Linked DNA regions of Homo sapiens: region 1 is linked to region 2. Evidence: promoter capture Hi-C in human tissues and cell types (Jung and others, 2019). All regions are on one chromosome and are shown on one strand. Each heading gives the region's core, a stretch centred on a gene start or on the middle of the fragment in contact. The rest is flanking DNA. Distances are from core to core; before and after follow the strand shown. Region 1 overlaps CBFB (core-binding factor subunit beta). Region 2 holds the start of SLC9A5 (solute carrier family 9 member A5).

Region 1 (3,738 bases), core at 615-3,114, 200 kb before region 2:
GACAACTTTACAAATACCTTGTCACATCTGGATTTTAAGTATTTCAGTTCGACTAAAATATGAATTGACAGCACTTAGTTATTGACAGTTTAGTGTATTGAAATCTGGTTTTTAAAAATATGCTTTAGATAAACTATAATACTCTAATAATAACGGAATCATAAAATTTAGAACTGGTAACTGCAAGCTTATATATATATATATATTTGACACCTTTGTAGCTGGCAGAGCGTTTGTATTTTTAAAGAAAAGTTTTTATTTTAGTTATTTTAGTTATTTTTCAATCTAAGAGAGGAAGTCGACTTTCTGAAAAAATTAAAATGTTTTGGCTAGGTGGGGTGGTTCATGCCTGTAATCCCAGCACTTTGGGAGGCCGAGGCAGGTGGATCACCTGAGGTCAGGAGTTCGAGACCAGACTGGCCAACGTGATGAAACCCCACCTCTACTAAAAATACAAAAAATTAGCCAGGTATGCTGGCATGTGCCTGTAATCCCAGCTACTTGGGAGACTGAGGCAGGAGAATTGCTTGAACCCGGGAGGCGGAGGTTGCAGTGGGCTGAGATTGTACCACAACACTCCAGCCTGGGCAACAGAGCAAGACTCTGTCTGAAAAAAAAAAAATTAAAATGTTTTAAAATTAGTATGTCATAGTACCTTCCAGTTAGAGTACGTGAATCTGCATACATGGTAAATGCACCTCTGAAGCACTTGAAGATTGTGAAGTCCCGTTTTCTCTTCTTTTGGATTGCATTATTTCCATTTTAGTGTAAAGGTGAAATTCTCTTTCATGACCTTTCCTGAATTACATATTCCAAGTGAGAGAAGGCAGAAATAATATGTCTGAGAAGAGCATCCTTCACTCTTCCCCTCCTTCCTTCTACTTTCTACATTTTTTTTTTTTTTTTTGAGACAGTGTCTTGCTCTGTCATCCAGGCTGGAGTGCAGTGATGTAATCTTGGCTCACTGCAACCTCCGCCTCCCAGGTTCAAGCGATTCTCCTGCCTCAGCCTCCCAAGTAGCTGGGATTACAGGCACCCGCCACCACACCTGGCTAATTTTTGTGTTTTTATTGGAGATGGGGTTTCACCATTTTGGCCAGGCTGGTCTCAAACTCCTGACCTCAGGTGATCCGCCTGTCTTGGCCTCCCAAAGTGTTGGGATTATAGGCGCTCTGAGCCACTGTGCCTGGCCTTTTTTGTTGTTGTTTGTTTGTTTTTGAAACTAGATATCTCTCTGTCACCCAGGCTGGAGTGCAGTGGTGTGATCTTGGCTTACTGCAACCTCTGCCTCCTGGGCTCAAGCGATCCTCCCACCTCAGCCTCCCAAGTAGCTGGAACCACAGGCACGCGCCACCATGCCCAGGTAATTTTTTTGTAGATATGGGGGTCTCACCATGTTGCCCAGGCTGGTCTCAAACTCCTGGACTCAAGCAATCCTCTCGCCTTGGCCTCTCAAAGTGCTGGGATTACAGGCATGTACCCATCATTTTTTTTTAATGGTTAATTCAAATGCTGCCAGGATAAAGACTATTGAAATGTTGTTGTCTGAAGATGTTAATTTCTTTGTAGCACTGCTATGCCCTAGTTTTACTATTTCCCATTTTCACTTGTAGTTTTTCAATCAGCATTATTGAGGTATAATTTACATGTAGTACAGTTCACCTATTTTAAGTGTACAAGTCTGTGACAACTGTGTATTCAGTAGTATAACCACCACCAAAGTTCACCATTGCTTCAAAAAGTTCCCTCATGCCCCCTTGCAGGTAGTGTTCTAATTGATGCAGACATACATGCACTGATACTTTTGTGATCCTCATCTTACAGGGAAGAAAACGTTTGTAATTTCTTTTTAACAGCATAAAAATGCTGTTTACCTTCAGGTGCAGAGACTTTGTTTCTTCAATATTATTCTTTGATGCTTAGTTTTGTACAGAGGATTGGAAGCTACAGACAAGCTAAAGTATAATAGTGATATGGTAGACTTTAATTATTGTTCCTTTTTTTATGAAAGTATGCACGTGAACAGTTGGAAAGTATTATCTGTTATAAGCTTTTCAGTTTAAGCTGGGCCTCCTCAAATTGATGTGTGTTTAGGAACTAAGAATTTTAAATAACATTTGAAGGGCCGGGCGCAGTAGCTCATACCTGTAATCCCAGCACTTTAGGAGGCCAAGGCAGGCAGATCACAAGGTCAGGAGTTCAAGACCAGCTTGGCCAACATAGTGAAACCCCGTCTCTACTAAAAAAAAAAAAAAATTAGCCAGGCATAAGCTGAGATCATGCCACTGCACTGTAGCCTGGGCAACACAGCAAGACTCTGTCTCAATAAATAAATACCATTTGAAATGTCTTCAATGCCATGTGTGGAAACTATTTAAAAAAATAAAACGTGCCTCTTGGCAGTATTGCTGTGCTTTCAGGACTCTAATGCAGGCTGTACCTAAGAGGGAAAGGGCTGAGTCTGGGGATGGTTGGCAGGTTGTTTTTGTGGATGAAAAACCTTTTACCCATGTATGCAGTCAGTACTGAGCCTTTTTGTGTTTTAAAACTTCAGATGTAAAGACAGGTTAATCTTCAGATTAAAACAAAAGGATGGCCTAGAAACTTGTGACTTCGACATTTACATTAGAAGAATGTAGATGTTTTCAAATAAACAAATCTGCCCATATCATAGATGTTCAAAGTTTGTTCCATATAATAACAATGATAGTTTCTAATAATCGTGTGGCCCTGTTTGCAGAACAGTGTTCTAAGTAATGAGCCATTTGGGAGAACCCTTTAAATTTTTTTTTTAGGATATTTATTCACACCAGCTTTTTAGTCCTGAGTTTCTATCCATCCCTTTGCTATCCAGAACATTTCTTGGCCATTTTTTTACTGGGTCAGGTGCCGTGGCTCGTGCCTTTGGTCCCAGTGCTCTGGAAGGCCAGGGCGGGTGGATCGCCTGGGGTTAGGAGTTCAAGACTAGCGTGGCCAGCATGGTGAAGCCCCGTCTCTACTAGGAATGCAAAAATTGGCTGGGCATGGTGGTGGGTGCCTCTGGTCCCAGCTGCTCGGGAGGCTAAGGCAGGAGAATCACTTGAACCTGGGAGGCAGAGGGTGCAGTGAGCCAAGATCGCGCCACTGCACTCCAGCCTGGGAACAAAATTCCATCTCAAAAAAAATAAAAATAAAAATGCAGAAATTGGTCAGGCGTGGTGTCGCATGCCTCTGGTTCCAGCTACTTGAGAGAGGCTGGGGTGGGAGAGTTGCTTGGGCCTGGGAGGCAAAGGTTGCAGTGAGCAGAGATCGCACCACGGCACTCCAGCCTGGGTGACAGAGCAAGGCTCCATCTCCAAACAAACAAATAACAAAAAAAACCCCTAAAACATTTTTTATTTTCCTTAAATGTATTGGCCAAGGTTAAAATATCCATCCTGAATATTCTGTATGAAAACATTGGATATGAAGAAAAAAAGAAAATTCAGGCAGTTGACCAGGGGAGAGAATTGAGCTTTTTGGTTCTTCCTGACACATATTCTCAGTGAGACTATACTCACTTTTTTAAAAGCTATTTATAAAATATTAAAATAAGATATTACATGAAGTTAAAAATTGAAACGAAAGTCAGCATCTTAATTCACCAATTACACAACTGAATGGTGTTTTTTGTTTGTTTGTTTGAGACAGAGTCTCGCTCTGTTGTCGAGGCTGGAGTGCAGTGGCATGATCTCAGCTCACTGCAAGCTCTGCCTCCCG
Region 2 (3,823 bases), core at 64-2,563:
ACTGGCTAGGAGGGCGGGAAAAACCGAGCTCGCGCCCCACCTTCGAGAACGCGCAGAAGGCGGGGAGGCTTTCTTTGGTCTGGGGATAGTGAGGCTGCGTTCTCTTTGAGGGGTGTTAGGGCAGATGGGGCAGAAGTTTCTTTAGATAGTGGCCGGCCAGGTCTCTCTCAGTTGAGGGACAAGATAGCCCTCATTCCTTCCATTTGAGGGGTGAGTCCCTGTGGTTTCCTCATTTAGGGAAAGCAGTGAGAGGGGGTCCCTTCAATTTGGAGCAAGAAGTGAGAATAAATTCCACCCAGTTTGAAGGAAGAGGTGGGATCAGTTCCCTTTAGTTGTGGGAGGAAGAGGGAAGGATGCCCTTCAGTTTTCTGGGAAAAGATTGGGAGGAGTCAGTTTGAGGGGGCAGATAGAACACGTTCCCCTCAGTTTTGGAGAAAAAGTGGGATGGGTGCCCCTCAGCCTGAATGAAAAGTGGAGACGGTCCTCCTCTGTTTGGGGCGCTATGAGCCGAATGCCCCTCAGATTTGGAAAAAGTTGGGTGCATCTCGCCTAGTTTGAAGGGAATCAGTAGGCTGGGTTTTCCATAGGTTCCTGTCAGCTTCATCAAAGAGATGAGACAGTTCTCTGTAGTGTGACTGAAAGGGAGGGCCAGGTGCCCCTTGGTTTGGGAGATGAAGAACAGCCTCCCTCTTCGCCTGGCACGAGCTGGGCCAGTCTGGGCCTTAGGGTTTCTGGGACGTTGGGGGCAGCGTTGTCCGTCACTGCTTTGGGGAGCGTCCAGTGCGCGTGCGCAGCTCAGGTCCGGGTGGGGGCCGGCAGGGGGTCCTGGGCTTGGCAACGTGGGCGGAGGGCGGCCAAGCACGGTCCCCTGCGTTTTGCACCCGGCCGCGCCTTGGTCCCAGGGGGGTGCTGCTCGCCGCACAGCAGCGCTGGCCGAGGAGGAGCCGTGCCCCTCCCGTCCTGACCGCGCCCCCCGCAGACCCCCGCCCTTCCCGCTGCGGGCTGCCCCAGGGGGGCCGTGGCCGCGCACCGCTCTGGATCTGGTGGGGGCGGTTTTGGGGAGGTTTGGGGGCGCGGACTCGAAGGAGTAGGTTGTGGAACTTGGGGGAGAGCTGCACTGGGGAATTTCCGGAGCTGGGACTGATTTAGGGAGGAAAGAGGAGAGAGTCCCCGACTACGAGAGTCCGAGGCAGGGTCTCGGAGCCTGGACCTGGCTTGGGGGTATCGGAGCCGGGATTGGGGGGAGCGGGCCCCACGTGCCTGTGACGCGGGGGCGCCCGGTAGGTGGCGGCGGCGACGCGGGGCCGGCGGCCGTGCGGTGCCGGGAGGGCGGCTGGGCAGGCGGCAGGATGCTGCGCGCCGCCCTGTCCCTGCTCGCGCTGCCCCTGGCGGGGGCGGCCGAAGAGCCCACCCAGAAGCCAGAGTCCCCGGGCGAGCCTCCCCCAGGCTTAGAGCTCTTCCGCTGGCAGTGGCACGAGGTGGAGGCGCCCTACCTGGTGGCCCTGTGGATCCTGGTGGCCAGTCTGGCCAAAATCGGTGAGTGCGTGTGTGCGTGCGCCAGGCCGACCGCCAGCGGCGGACCCGCCCCCAACACCCCCACCTCCTCGGTCCTCAGATTGGGGCTGGCTTCTTGCACGGTGCTGGGACTTAGGTTTGGATTCCACAAATCCGGGCTCTCGCCCAGTTCCTGCATCGCTTCTTGTGGGTCCCAGGTCCCTGTCTTCTCCCCTGGGAGCTCTGAGGATTTGCCTTTCTGAAGGGCTGTCCCCCGCTCTCCCCAACTCCATCTGTAGGCTCCTTTGCCCTCTCCGCTCCCCTCTTCCCCTTGCAGTAGGCCCTCTTCAGTCTGGTCTCTCCCCCACCAATCCCTAGCCTCCCAGAAACCTCTGTCGCTGGTGAGGATGTGTGGGGACATTGAGGGGAGGGTGTTCTCCCAAGAACACAGGCATCCTGGTTCTGAAAAAGCAGCCTTCCCTGGAGACCATGTCCGAGTGTCCATTCCCTTGGGAAACTACACTGCCACTTTTCCTCCAGCTCTCCCCTGCTCCCCACTTAAAGCTGCTGCCTTCTTGTGCCTGTGTATGGGTACCCCCCCAACCCACGTTCAGGTCCACATTCTTCTCACTTCAGGGTATAAGAAACTTCCGTGTATCGGGGCCTTCCTGTGTGCTGTCTACCCTAGATGCTTTCATACATCCGACCTCTTCAGTCCTGACAGCATTGAAGGCTGTGCTTCAGACTTCTTTTTCCCTGAATAGAGCTGCTTTTCCTTGCATCTGCTCCTTCCTCCTCCCTTCTGAGCAGCCAGTGGTCCCTCCTCCCACCAGAGACCCTCCTCCTTCTCCCTGTTGTGCTGGCTCTGCTGTGGGGGTGACTAATTATAGCTGAGCGTTGCTACTCTCTCCCCATGGATGCTGGCACAGCCTGTACTCCAGTCTCACCAATACAGCCTTCATGGAGGAATCACCCAGAGCCTAGAATTTGCCCCTCTTCTCCCACATGGACACTGCTAGGGGGTGAGGGGGCTGGGCAGGAACAGAACTCTCCACTCTGCTGTGGCAGCCTGAGATTAATAATGGAAAGTGGAACTCAATATGCCTTCCGGGAGCGTGGTTCTGTGATGGGGCTTGGATCTCGGGGCTGGGGTTAATGCATGAAGAGATGAAGATGAAATAGGGTCCCCGAAGGAGAGAAGTGGGAGACCAAAGTAGGGACAAGTATGGAGAGATCTATGACCATGTTTACCTTAGAGGTCCAGCAGCAATGAGAGTAAGAGTAGAAAGAGCCTCAGGTTTGGAGCCAACGATTGGGTTTGCTAAGTCTGTGAGTTGCAGAAGAGTTCCTGTCTTAGGGTTTATAGCAAAAACTGTAGTTTTCCCCATAAATCATGGTTCTTTTTCTAGTTTGGATGACATTTCCTATGGAAGTAAGAGAAGAGAGCCTCCTTTTCACAAGTCAAAGAAAATCCTCGAACAAGAGAAAAGGCAGAGCATTCAGGAACACCTTCCCCCAGCTTCATTGCTAGGAGACTTTTTCCCTTTTATTAAACAAATATTTACATAGAGCTCACTATGTGCCAGGCACTGTTCTAGGCCCTTTGGGTACAGCTTCCAAAGGGCACTGTCTTGGCATAGGGTCTCACAGAGGCTAATTTAGAGGTCTCCTTCCCCAACACCCCAGGGATTATGTAGAGAGAGATGTGTTCGCTTGTGGTCTGAGGACTTAAAGGAGAGCCAAAGAGTTTATTTTAGAGGACAAAAGTAGGAGTGGCTATAGTGCTAGAAACGCTTTTCTTCTCCCCTCCTACAGACAGAACTGTTCTATTTAATTAACATTTGGTGTGTGTCTAACATACTATGTGTCTGACATTATGCTAGGCACATTTGCATACTTTATATCATTTTATCCTCACCCTTGATGCTGGGTATTTTTCCTATATTACAAAAGAAGAAATTGAAGTTCAAGTAAGTTAAATAATTTGCCTGAGATCACATAGAATGTGCTAAGGCTGGAAGAAGACCTGGAGATCTTCTGATTGCTAAAGCCAAAGTTTTAAAAACTACGCAGTCCTGAGTGAGCCCATATAATGAAAAGCACATTGGGCTAGGAAGTCTACACAGCTCCTAGGAGGTATAATATACATTCTGGTCTAGTTAAGGAGTGAGGACATTATAATAGGTAACATTTATTGAGTGCTTACTGTAAAGTAGTGTGCTAAGTGCTTTTGAGTAGATTGTCTTTTTTTTTTTTTTTTTTTTTTTTTTTTGAGACAGAGTCTCACTCTGTCACCCAGGCTGGAGTACAGTGGCATGATCTCGGCTCA

Evidence for each region. The method cuts DNA at HindIII sites, captures the fragments that hold promoters and counts their contacts. A contact is called where the count stands out against the background at its distance.
Region 1: a contact is called between a fragment that was not itself captured here and the fragment with the promoter of SLC9A5 in region 2, in 2 of the 25 tissues and cell types used here (dorsolateral prefrontal cortex and hippocampus).

Annotation. Positions count from the first base shown.
Region 1 is chr16:67,044,907-67,048,644 of GRCh38, forward strand. The region is part of intron 3 of CBFB (core-binding factor subunit beta); the gene reads left to right. Among named protein-coding and RNA genes, the nearest start is that of CBFB, 18 kb to the left of the region's middle. The HindIII fragment of the contact is 7,078 bases long and covers 1-3,738 here.
Region 2 is chr16:67,247,666-67,251,488 of GRCh38, forward strand. It overlaps SLC9A5 (solute carrier family 9 member A5), which reads left to right and starts at 1,314. Exons shown (of 16, transcript NM_004594.3): 1 at 1,314-1,536. The coding sequence starts at 1,350. RefSeq lists silencers at 1-123, 766-855, 876-965, 1,266-1,375 and enhancers at 1,051-1,552, 1,553-2,052. The HindIII fragment of the contact is 10,180 bases long and covers 1-3,823 here.